2 separate regions of the Homo sapiens genome follow, and region 1 is linked to region 2. Evidence: promoter capture Hi-C in human tissues and cell types (Jung and others, 2019). All regions are on one chromosome and are shown on one strand. Each heading gives the region's core, a stretch centred on a gene start or on the middle of the fragment in contact. The rest is flanking DNA. Distances are from core to core; before and after follow the strand shown.

Evidence for each region. Contacts are between HindIII fragments. The study calls those that stand out against the background at their distance.
Region 1: a contact is called between a fragment that was not itself captured here and the fragment with the promoter of BAIAP2L1 in region 2, in 1 of the 25 tissues and cell types used here (neural progenitor cells).

The regions. Positions count from the first base shown.
Region 1 is chr7:98,449,015-98,455,096 of GRCh38, reverse strand. It overlaps the pseudogene PPIAP82. Among named protein-coding and RNA genes, the nearest start is that of BAIAP2L1, 51 kb to the right of the region's middle. The HindIII fragment of the contact is 4,832 bases long and covers 1,177-6,008 here.
Region 2 is chr7:98,397,317-98,403,444 of GRCh38, reverse strand. It overlaps BAIAP2L1 (BAR/IMD domain containing adaptor protein 2 like 1), which reads left to right and starts at 2,355. Exons shown (of 14, transcript NM_018842.5): 1 at 2,355-2,643. The coding sequence starts at 2,593. RefSeq lists a silencer at 2,022-2,681. The HindIII fragment of the contact is 4,393 bases long and covers 1,043-5,435 here.

The DNA.
Region 1 (6,082 bases), core at 2,343-4,842, 50 kb before region 2:
AATTGGTGGGCCTCCAGACTTAGCTGAACCACCTCCAATGGGTGGGCCCCCTTCTGTTGAGATGCTCTTTAACAAATGAAGGCCAGCCAGACACTCCTCTGGGCAGTGAGACTGTCCACCTCAGAAATGGAGGCATTGGCCAGACATGGTGGCTCATGCCTGTAATCCCAACACTTTGGGAGGCCCAGGAGGGAGGATCCTCGCTTGAGACCAGGAGTTTGAGAACAGACCGGGCAACAAAGCCATATCCCATCTCTACAAATAATAATAATAAATTAACCAAGCATGGAGGCACACACCTCTAGTCCCGGCTACTCAGGAGTTTGAGGCAGGAGGATCGCTTGAGGTCAGGAGTTCGAGGCTGCTGCAATGAGCTATGATTGTGCCACTGAACTCCAGCCTGGGTGACAGAGTGAGACCCTATTTCTTGAAAAAGAGAGAGAGAAGCTTTGCAGACACTGCCGCCACCAGGAACTCTGTACTATCAGCCATGGTCAACCCCACCGTGTTCTTCGACATTGCTGTTATCGACGAGCCCTTGGGCCGCGTCTCCTTCAAGCTGTTTGCAGACAAGTTTCCAAAGACAACAGAAAACTTTCATGCTCTGAGCACTGGAGAGAAAGGATATGGTTATAAAGGTTCCTGCTTTCACAGCATTATTCCAGGGTTTATGTGTCAGGGCGGTGACTTCACACTCCTTAATGGCACTGGTGGCAAGTCCATCTACAGGGAGAAATTTGATGATGAGAACTTCATTCTAAAGCATACAGGTCCTGGCATCTTGTCCATGGCAAATGCTGGACTCAACACAAATGGTTCCCAGTTCTTCATCTGCACGGCCAAGACTGAGTGGTGGATGGCAGGCATGTGGTCTTTGGCAAGGTGAAAGAAGGCATGAAGATTGTGGAGGCCATGGAGCACTTTCGGTCCAGGAATGGCAAGACCAGCAAGAAGATCACCATTGCTGACTGCGGACAACTCTAATAAGTTTGACTTCTGTTTTATCTTAACCACCGGACCATTCCTTCTGTAGCTCAGGAGAGCACCCTTCCGGCCCATTTGCTCGCAGTATCCTAGAATCTTTGTGGTCTCGCTGCAGTTCCCTTTGGTTCCATGTTCTCCTTGTTCCCTTCCATGCCTAGCTGGATTACGGAGTTAAGTTTATGATTGTGAAATAAAAACTAAATAACAAAAAAAATATAAAGAGAGAGAAATGGAGGTGTTGGCCCCCAGGACAGGAAAACCCCCAATATGGGATCATATGGGAGCTTTTTTTTTTTTTTTTTTTTTGTGACGGAGTCTGACTCTGTTGCCCAGGCTGGAGTGCAGTGGCGCAATCTCGGCTCACTGCAAGCTCCGCCTCCCGGGTTCACGCCATTCTCCTGCCTCAGCCTCCCGAGTAGCTGGGACTACAGGTGCCCGCCACCATGCCTGGCTAATTTTTTGTATTTTTAGTAGAGACAGGGTTTCACCGTGTTAGCCAAGATGGTCTTGATCTCCTGACCTCGTGATCTGCCTGCCTCGGCTTCCCAAAGTGCTGGGATTACAGACATGAGCCACTGCTCCCAGCCCCAATATGGGATCTTACAGACATTCATCTACTAGTGCTTCTCTGTCATGGGCCCACCCATCCACATGAGGACTCAAAGAGACCTCAAGCCCTTCCTCCTGCTCTTGGTACACTATGCCTGGTGCACTTCTCAAGTCCTTGCTAACAGTGGTCTCAAACATTTCCCCCAGCAAACTCACCACAACTGGCACATCCCAAGGAGAGCTCATGGATAGGACCACAGTGTCTGCCACCGGAATCCTTTCTCCATCAAGAAATGACTCCAAGTTCTTAAGAAATGGGACACCTCTTAAGGTAATGCTAAAAATTCCTTTCCAGCCTTTAACTTCATGAAGCTTTTTGACTTCCTTGGTTTAATGAATGTATGGGAAAATCTGGTCCTCCAAATCTGTGCATCCTCCCAAAAATAGTAATTCCGATCACGGCATGCTTTTCACAGTGTCGTCCCTTTGACACAGGTGCTATTTTAAGCCTGATGAATTCCTTCAGTAACATAACATTCAACAGTTAGGTGGTACCTGTGGCACCCACCACCAGGCCTGGCACAAAATAAGCCCTCGAGAGATCATTTCTTGGCTGACAAAATGAAATACGGTGTGGCGTTCTCTTGGCTCTGCAATTACTGCGATGCAATTCTGACGCCAGGCACTTGGAGTTAACATCTGACTCCACAGGTTTAAGAGCATGGTTCCCAGCAACACCGCCCTCATTTCAGAGGCCAGTTCAGGGGTCACCAAGACACATGCACTTCTGACCAACTGGCCACCAATCTGGGAGGGGAAGAGGTTTCATGATCCTCCTCGGGATCAATAATTTACTAAAATGACTCAGAATTCAGGTAAGTTCTATATTTGCAATTACAGTTTTATTATAAAGAGTACAAATCAGGACAAGCTAAACAAAGAGACACATAGGGCAAGGCCTGAGGGTGGTGGGAGGGGGCAGGGTCTCAAATGCATGGTCTCTAGGCCCTCTCCCCATAGAATCTGGCACACCTCTATGTTCATCAACAAGGGTGCTCCCCCAAGCCTCAGTGTCCACAGTTTTTACTAGGGTTTCATCATAGACATTATTAATTGAATAACTGGCCATGTGACTGAACTCAGTCTCCAGCCTCCCACCCTACCCCACCCCACAGACTGGGCTGATATCATCTGGCTCAAAGCCCCAACCCTGTAATCACACGATTGGACTTCCTGGCATGGCCAGCTCCCATCCCAAGTCACCTCATTAACATAAACTCAGGTATGGGCAGTCTGTGTGAATAACACACACTCCTATCACTCAGGAAATTCCAAGAACTTAGACGCTCCCTTTCAGAAACCAGGGAAATTCTTTATTCTAGAACAAAATTTTAATTATACAACAGCTCAGATCTTGGGTGATTATTTTATTTTGTTGAGTTGGGGTCTTGCTCTGTTGCCCAGGCTGGAGTGCAGCTGTGTAATCGTGGCTTACTGCAGCCTTGACCTTCCAGACTCCAGCCATCCTCCCGCCTCAGCCTCCTGCATAGCTGGGACTACAGATGTAAGCCACACGCCCGGACTGGCTAATTTTTTTTTTTTTTTGGTAGAGATGGGGTCTCACTATGTTGCTCAGGCTGGTGTCTAGCTCCTGGGCTCAAACCATCTTTCTGCCTTGGCCTCCCAAAGTGCTGAGATTATACGTGTGAGCCACTGCACCCAGCTTTGGGTGATTACGTTAATAAGTGACTCAACTGAACACAACAGCTGAGTTCCAAAATTCTGATGGTCACTCCCTAAAGGTAATCCAAATTAATCCCATGGGACCCGTTTCCAATGTGGCATCACCTTCAAAGACATATACCCATTAAATAAAAACTACCAAATGATATCTGATGAACGAATGCTTGTGGCTCTCAATTAAGATTACATATTAGGCTGGGTGCGGTGGCCCATGCTGTAATCCCAGCACTTTGGGAGGCCAAGGAGGGAGGATTGCCAGAGCTCAAGAGTTCCAGACCAGCCTGAACAACATGGTGAAACCCCATCTCTACTAAAAATACAAAAATTAGCCAGGCATGGTGGCATGCACCTATAGTCCCACCTACTAGGTAGGCTGAGGTGGGAGGATCACTTGAACCCAAGAAATGGAGGTTGCAGTGATGCCACTGCACTCTGGCCTGGGTGACAGAGCGAGACTCCATCTCAAAAAAAAAAAACGAAATAGGGGCAGGGTGAGGTGGTTCATGCTTGTAGTCCCAGCACTTTGGGAGGCCAAGACAGGAGAATTGCTTGAGGCCAGCAGTTCAACACCAGCCTGGGCAATCATAGAGATAGTGAGACCCCTATCTCTATGAAAAATTTAAAAATTAGCTGGGCATGGTGGTGCACACCTGTAGTCCCAGCTACTTGGGAGGCTGAGGTGGGAGGATTGCTTGAACCCAGGAGGTCAAGGCTGCAGTGAGCTGTGTACTGCTGCACTCCAGCCTGGGTGACAGAACAAGACCCTGTCTCAAAAAAAAAAAAAAAAAAAAAAAAAAGAAAGAAAGAAAGAATGTCTTTTCCAGCAACTTGGATGAAACTGGAGGCCATTATCCTTAGTGAAGTAACTCAGGAACAGAAAACCAAATACTGCATGTACTCACCAATAAGTGGGAGCTAAGCTATGGGTATGCAAAGACATGCAGAGTGGGGACATTGGAGACTCAGAAAGGGGATGATGGTAGTGGGTGACGATGAAAAACTACTTATTGGATACAAAGTACACTACTCAGGTGACAGAGGCTCTAAAATCCTAGGCTTCACCACCATACAATTCTTCCACATCCCAAAACCCACTTGTACCCCTCAAGCTACTGAAATGAAAAAAAACTTAAAAATAAATTTTTGGCTGGGTTCTGTGGCTCACGCCTGTAATCCTAGCACTTTGGGAGGCCAAGGCTGGCAGATCACCTGGGGTCAGGAGTTTGAGACCAGCCTGGCCAACATGGTGAAACCCTGCCTCTACTAAAAATACAAAACTTAGCCAGGCATGGTGGCACATGTCTGTAATTTCAGCTACTGTGGAGGCTGAGACAGGAGAATCGCTTGAACTTGGGAGGCGGAGGTTGCAGTGAGCCAAGATTGTGCCACTGCACTCCCGCCTGGTCAACAGAGTGAGATTCCGTCTCAAAAATAAATAAATAAATTTTGTTTGAGACAGAGTCTTGCTCTGTTTCCTAAATTGAAGGGCAGCAGTGCTATCATGGCTCACTGCAGCCTCAACCTCCTGTGCTCAAGTGATCCTCCCACCTCAGCCTCCTGAATAGCTTGGACTACAGGCTCATGCCATCACATCTGGCTAATTTTTGTAATTTTTCCAGGGATGGGGTCTTATTATGTTGCCTAGGCTGGTCTTGAACTCCAGGCTCAAGTGACCCTGCTGCCTCGGCCTCCCAGGTAGCTGGGACTACAGGCACGCACTACCACACCTGGCTAATTTTTTATTTGTTATAGAGATGGGGTGTCACTATATTGCCCAGGCTGGTCTCAAACTCCTGGCCTCAATCAGTCCTCCCACCTCTGTCTCCCAAAGGGCTGGGATTACAGGCATGAGCCACCATGCCCAGCCACTATTTTTTCTTTTTAAAAAAATTTTTGGCTGGGCATGGTGGCTCACGCCTGTAATCCCAGCCCTTTGGGAGGCCGAGGCAGGTGGATCATCTGAGCTCAGGAGTTCAAGACCAGCCTGGCCAACATTGTAAAACCCCGTCTCTACTAAAAATGCAAAAATTAGCCGGGTGTGGTGGCACGTGCCTATAATCCGAGCTACTCGGGAGGCTGAGGCAGCAGAATCACTTGAACCTAGGGGCAGAGGTTGCAGTGAGCTGAGATCATGTCACTGCACTCCAGCCTGAGGGTCAGAGTGAGACTCTCAAAAAATAAATAAATAAATAAATAAAATAAAATAAAAAAGAAAAGAAAAAATAAATTGACAGAGCCACACCGAGTGTAAGAAACTAATCAGATCTATTCAGCTAGAAAACCAATTTTGCACAACTGTGTCCATTTTCCTCCCAAGGAGTTTTACACCTTGATGCAAATCGGGAGATTGTTGGAAAGTGGAATTTCATGTTAATTTGCATTTCTGACCGTGGAGGGGTAGGTGAAATGTGACTTCTTTTCTATGGCACAGATAAGAGTGGCACTCTGAGAGGCTCAAAAGGAAGCTTCCTCCCCCAAATGCCATCCTCAACATAACCGTGAAACAAAAATGGCGCATCTCAGAAGGACCTTGGTGGTGTCGTTGGAAGGTAGATTAACAAGAATGATACCTGCAAGCTGTAATTGTGCTTGCTTTCCCTGACATACAGTAGGTGCCCCATAAACCTCTGATGGCTGGATGAATTAACAAGTGAATGAGCTCTTTATTCAAGGGTCCTACCCCAAACCAGCATCCCTCAACCAGTCCTTCCATCACCATCTAGGTGATTGGGGGTTGTTGATGGAAAAAGGCAAGAACCAAATTTGCAAACTCCCCTGCTGGCTTCACAATAATTCATGCTCATCT
Region 2 (6,128 bases), core at 1,106-3,605:
CTGCTGAGTAGCTGGGATTTAGGCATGCACCATCAAACCTGGTCAATGTTGTATTTTTAGTATAGACGGGGTTTCTCCATGTTGGTCAGGCTGGTCTCAAACTCCTGACCTCAGGTGATCTGCCTGCCTCAGTCTCCTAAAGTGCTGGCATTACAGGCGTGAGCCACTGCGCCTGGCCAGAAGTCTCACATCTTAACAGCCCATAAAAGATGCAATTGCACTCACATAGACGTTTTGGCATTTTTGTTTGTTTTTTGAAACAGAGTCTCACTCTGTGGCCCAAGCTGGAATGCAGTGGCACCATCACAGCTCACTGCAACCTCTTGGGCTCAAGCCATCCTCCTACCTCAGCCTCCGGAATAGCTGGGACTACAGATGCACACTATCACACTTGGCTAATGTTTTTAATTATATTTTTTGCAGAGATGGGGGTGGGCTCCCTATATTGCCTAGGCTGGCCTCGAACTCCTAGACTCAACCAGTCCTCCTGCCTTGGTCTCCCGAAGTGCTCGGATTACAGGCATGAGCCATCCTGCCTGGCCCCCAGATAGAAGCTTTTTGTTTGTTTGTTTTTGAGACAGAGTTTCGCTCTTGTCCCTCAGGCTGGAGTGCAGTGGTGCTATCTCAGCTCACTGCAATCTCTGCCTCCCAGGTTTAAGCAATTCTCCTGCCTCAGCCTCCCGAGTAGCTGAGATTACAGGTGCACGTGCTACCATGCCTGGCTAATTTTTGTATTTTTAGTAGAGACGGGGGCAGGGCGGTTTCACCATGTTGGCTAGGCTGGTCTCGAACTCCTGACCTCAAGTGATCCGCCTGCCTTGGCCTCCCAAAGTGCTAGGATTACAGGCATGAGCCACCAAGCCCAGAGGTTTTAAAAAATCAGAATAAGACCTCTGCCCTTGTTGGGTGCGGGTCTCAGGTAGCTAAATGGTGGTTCTTACTGGGGAGAAGGCTGTCACCCAGCCCAAGGTACATAATCCTGGAAGAGAGGCCCAAAGAAGGCAGCTGCCTCACCCTTGGGCAGGGCTGAGGCCGGGATGGAGACAAAATAGGGAGCCCAGGAGCCACACACCTCCACAGAGTTTGAGTGATGACAAGAAGAGAGGCTTCCCTAACACTTCAGCTCAGGTGGTTTTCTAAACCCTACAACAATCTCGTGAGTAGCATGGTTACACTGCATTGAGTTAAAGGTCGTTGTTAATGTAAAGTTTAAAAATGTACTACTGGGCCGGGCGCGGTGGTTCAAGCCTGTAATCCCAGCACTTTGGGAGGCTGAGCAGGGCGGATCACCTGAGGTTAGGAGCTCGGGACCAACCTGGCCAACATGGTGAAACCCCGTCTCTACTAAAAATACAAAAAAATTAGCCTGGCTTGGTGGCACGTGCACCTGTAATCTCAGCTACTCGAGAGGCTGAGGCAGGAGAATTGCTTAAACCTGGGGGGCAGAGATTGCAGCAAGCTGAGAGAGCACCACTGCACTCCAGCCTGAGGGGACAAGAGTGAAACTCTGTCTCAAAAACAAACAAAAAGCTTCTATCTGGGGGCCAGGCAGGATGGCTCATGCCAGGCAGGAGAATCGCTTGAACCTGGGAAGCGGAGGTTGCAGCAAGCTGAGATCGCACCACTGCACTCCAGCCTAGGCGACAGAGTGAGACTCCATCTCAAAAAAAAAAAAGTACTAACATTTCGGTAACTAGACCCTGGCATTTATTAATTTTTTGATATATCAGGAGCTTTCAAAACTGCAAGTGGCAGCCCGTTTTCTCCACCTAGGAGGGCCGATGCCCCCACGGGTCCCTCTAACTTTTGGGGTCAGTGAGCGGCGGGGCAAGAAGAGATCAATCAGGGAAATCAATACAACTGGGGAATGTGGCCCCTTCCCTTGGTCCCCAAAACGCAGGGCTTGAAGGAAGCCCTCATGGAGGAAGTGGGCCTCGGGGTCCCCGGGGCCAGCACCACGCGAGGCAAACAAGGGCTCCAGGACCACAGTCTAAACACCCCCAGGCTGCCCTTGCCCTAGCAAAACAGCAAAGCGAGCAGCCCACTCCACACCGGTCCCCACTCCAGGGTCTCGGGCCCTACGTCGCCGGAGCTCTGGGAGAGCCGCGAGGGGGCGCACCGTGGCCTCGCTGCCCTGTCCGCCACAGGTGGGGTGACCCCGCCCACTCGGGGGGCCCGCTTCCCTCTGGCCACGCCCATTCCAGCTGCCTGGCCCCGCCTCCTCCCCGCCCACCCCGGCCGGGCCCCGCTCACCAGGCCGCCTCAGGTGGGTACGCCACGCCCCTCCGGCCCTGCGGCCCCGCCCCCGTCTGCCCCGCCCGCCTCAGGTGGGGCCGCCCGGCCCGCCCAGCTTCCTCTGGCGGCGTCCGGCCGCTTCTCCTCTGCTCCTCGAAGAAGGCCAGGGCGGCGCTGCCGCAAGTTTTGACATTTTCGCAGCGGAGACGCGCGCGGGCACTCTCGGGCCGACGGCTGCGGCGGCGGCCGACCCTCCAGAGCCCCTTAGTCGCGCCCCGGCCCTCCCGCTGCCCGGAGTCCGGCGGCCACGAGGCCCAGCCGCGTCCTCCCGCGCTTGCTCGCCCGGCGGCCGCAGCCATGTCCCGGGGGCCCGAGGAGGTGAACCGGCTCACGGAGAGCACCTACCGGGTAAGCCCAGGGCCCGGGGCTCAGGGAGGTCAGGGCTTTCCACCTCGGGGTTCAGAAGGGGACTTTACGCGGGAAGGTACTTTCCCTCCCTCCAGCTCCCCTCCCCCGCGTCCTTCCACCTCTCCCGGTCTCTCCCACTCCTCCCCTGGCCCTCCACAGCCCCTCTTCTTCCTCCCCTGGCCCTCTCCTTCCTCCCAGTCCCTCCCCATCCCCTCCCCCCTACTTTTCCTCCTCCTTCCCTCCCCTCCTCCCTGTGCTTCTTCCCTGTCTCTCTTTCCCGCCCCGCTGTACCTCTCCCTCTGCCCCTCCGCTCCCCGTTCACTCTCCCTCCTCCCCTGCCCCTCGACACTGTCCCTCCCCTCCTCCTGGTTCTTCCTTCTCCCCCGTGTGTCTCCCCCTCCTCCCCTGTCCCTTCTTCTCCCCAGTCTATCCCCCTCCCTCCCCCTCCCCCTCCCCCTCCTCTTGGTTCTTCCTCCTTCCCCGTGTGTCTCCCCCTCCTCTCCTGGCCCTTCTCCGCCTCCCCTGTCCCTTCTCCTCCCCGTCCCTTCTCCTCTTCCCTGACCCTCAGAGCTCTGGAGACCACCCCCCATCCCCTGACCAGCTACACATTTTACAACTAGTGCACTTAAGTTGGGGAGGGGTCTGTTGTGCGTCGGTGGGGCCCACGTCCTCCTCCCAACTTCTTGGAATCAGTGACCCGTGCTGTCCTGGCTGCCGGGCTTAAGCCCTCCGGGACCAAAGACACAAGCTCGAGTTTCCTCTAAGAAAAGAAAGCGCCCAAGAATGTGGGGGTGAAACTCCCCTGTAATTAGGATCGCCAGGTGAGCCGAGCTCTGGGCGTTCTCCCGGGAAACGCCCTCCTCCTTAGACCCTTCCTCTCCCACCTTTCAGTTGAACTTGGCTTTTATATATGGGTTATTTGGTGAGGTTCTTGAAGTCAAAGAACAACCGAGGTTTTAATGAAATTGACCTAACCTTAAGGAATGCGTTGATAGCCGGTCTCTTAACTTGCATGTATTAGGAGAGAATTTTTCCAGACACAGACAGAGACTTAGGATTAGTGGCCTGTTTAGTTTACATACTTACAAATGAATTCCAGGTGAAATAAGATATCTGTTAATCATCTGCTATTAATAGAACACAAAACAACTTTTGTTTTAATTCAGCCTAGGCGCTTCGAACCCTTGAAACTTTAACGTTCTCTAAGTTCATGTATAGGCATGTTTAAGGTTATAAATAAATGGTTGGTCGGTTGGTTGGTTGGTGTGTTTTATCTTTTTTCTGTCCCTGGTGCTTGAATCAGGAAGTTTAGTCATTTTGATAGACTTTTTTAAACCTAAAATTTTAGTTTCTGGGTTTTCAAGGTCTGAATTCCTAAAATCAGAGGAGTCTATTAACTTTTGTTGAATGAAAGTAAGAGAAGAACATGAACATTTTTGTTATGTATTGAAATCCAAGAGATCCGTTCCGTTTATCTTAACACACAAAGTGTATACTGTCACATATAAATTATGCCTTACAGGTAGGGAGAGTAGACACAGTTGACACAGCGTTTTTGATGCTCAGTCACTGTGACCAAAAACTCTTCTATTCGTGTGTTGCCTTCATAGAGGGCGATCTTTAGAAATTTGAGAAATTCGAAATTTGAGAAATTCCTACATTTGTATTGAGATTGCTACTATTTAAATGACCCGGAAGACGTTGCTGCATGAGGTGTGGGGTACTGACCAAGTGTGTAAATAAAACGTTCTTTCTGCCAGACTCAGACCTGGAAAGTAAGTAGTGGCTGCTCTGTTGACTGTCAGTGAAGGAAAAACTGTGTAATTGAGGAAGGCAGGCCATTGCAAATTTGAGGCAGAGTCTGATGTCCACTGGGGTGCAAAAATACAGAACACCACTGCCTTCCGCCCTTCTTCCAAGAACAGCCCTGTGTATCTTCCCAGTCTGAGCTGCGATTGCAACTTGAGACCAGCAGTCAGGTGTTCTGAGTTAAACCCTGCTTTTTTTCTCCCGCTTCTTCCTGACGTAGACTTTTAGTAATAACTCCTTAGAGGGACCGTACCAAGGCGAATTGCAGCGTCACAAATGCCAACCACTTGGGCATGTCTTATTACCCAAAGAACGGAAACGGCAGGGAAAAAGTGTGGATTTCATCATTTTGGTTATACGTATTTGTAGACGTAAGGCACTGTAAATGGAGATCAAAGACCAGTACCTGATAGTTTTCCATTGCCAGGTGTCTGAAAGCAAACTGGAAAGCTCACTAAATGTTTGTTCGTTTTAATTACTATTTCCTTGTTAGTGTTTTGGGACCTTTTTTTTTTTTAATGTCCAGGTGGTAGGATATTTACAGCATCAGACTACAAGTTTATGTAATCTATGAAATAGTGAAGGCTGCTAGCCCATGCTTTGGCTTTGGCAGTGCAAAGTGAAATTTTAATTCAGGAGTCTGAAAAACCTTTTCCCGCCCCTGTATTGGGTTCTTCCCCCTATCCAGCCCTGCCCCATGATGTTCAAGCTGAAAACAGTTTAAGCTTAATATGGCAAAAATCTGGCAGTGTTGATGAATCTAGTGCTTTTAAGAAGAGATGTCCTCTATATTACCTAACCATCTACCATATTTTACTAATAGAAATGCAACACAACCAGGTGTGTTTACAAAAGCCACCTGCAAATGATTTTTTAATGACTTGCTAGTATGGGTTTTAGTTTTTTGTTTTTAAATACTCAGGTTTCTCCAATTATGAAATAAAGGAATACTTTAGAGAAAAGGAGGAATTATAAAGTAGAATGATCCTCTGTAGCCAATATCAAATATCCTTAAATATATGCTGTGTACACATTTGCTGAAATGTCTAAAATGTATACGTAGGCAAATGATTATGGGAGATCCATGCTAACTCCCAGGAGGATGTGTGTATTTTACTACTTCATAAACGATGTTATAAGCCCCAAAATGTCCAGTAATGTTGCTGTTACTAATTAGAGTTCAGCCAAAAATCCCTCCCCACTCCACACTTTATAGCATGCCCATAATTTGCCCTCAAAAGCTTGCTGTGATTTTGCATGGTTTTCTGATGAGTATATGCTCTCATGGTAGAAGAAGTAGTTCAAAAAAACCCTTAATTAAGAGCAGCCACAGCCTTCCTAGAACTGTTAAAGACTTAGGAAGTAGGGCCCGGCGCGGTGGCTCACGCCTGTAATCCCAGCACTTTGGGAGGCCAAGGTGGGCAGGCAGATCATGAGGTCAGGAGATCGAGACCGTCCTGGCCAACATGGTGAAACCCTGTCTCTACTGAAAATACAAAAATTAGCTGGGTGTGGTGGCGCGTGCCTGTAGTCCCAGCTACTCGGGAGGCTGAGGCAGGATAATCGCTTGAACCAGGGAGTTAGAGGTTGCAGTGAGCCAAGATGGCGCCACTGCACTCCAGCCTGGGCGACAGAGCGAGACTCCATCTCAAAAAAAAAAAAAAAAAAAAAAAAGG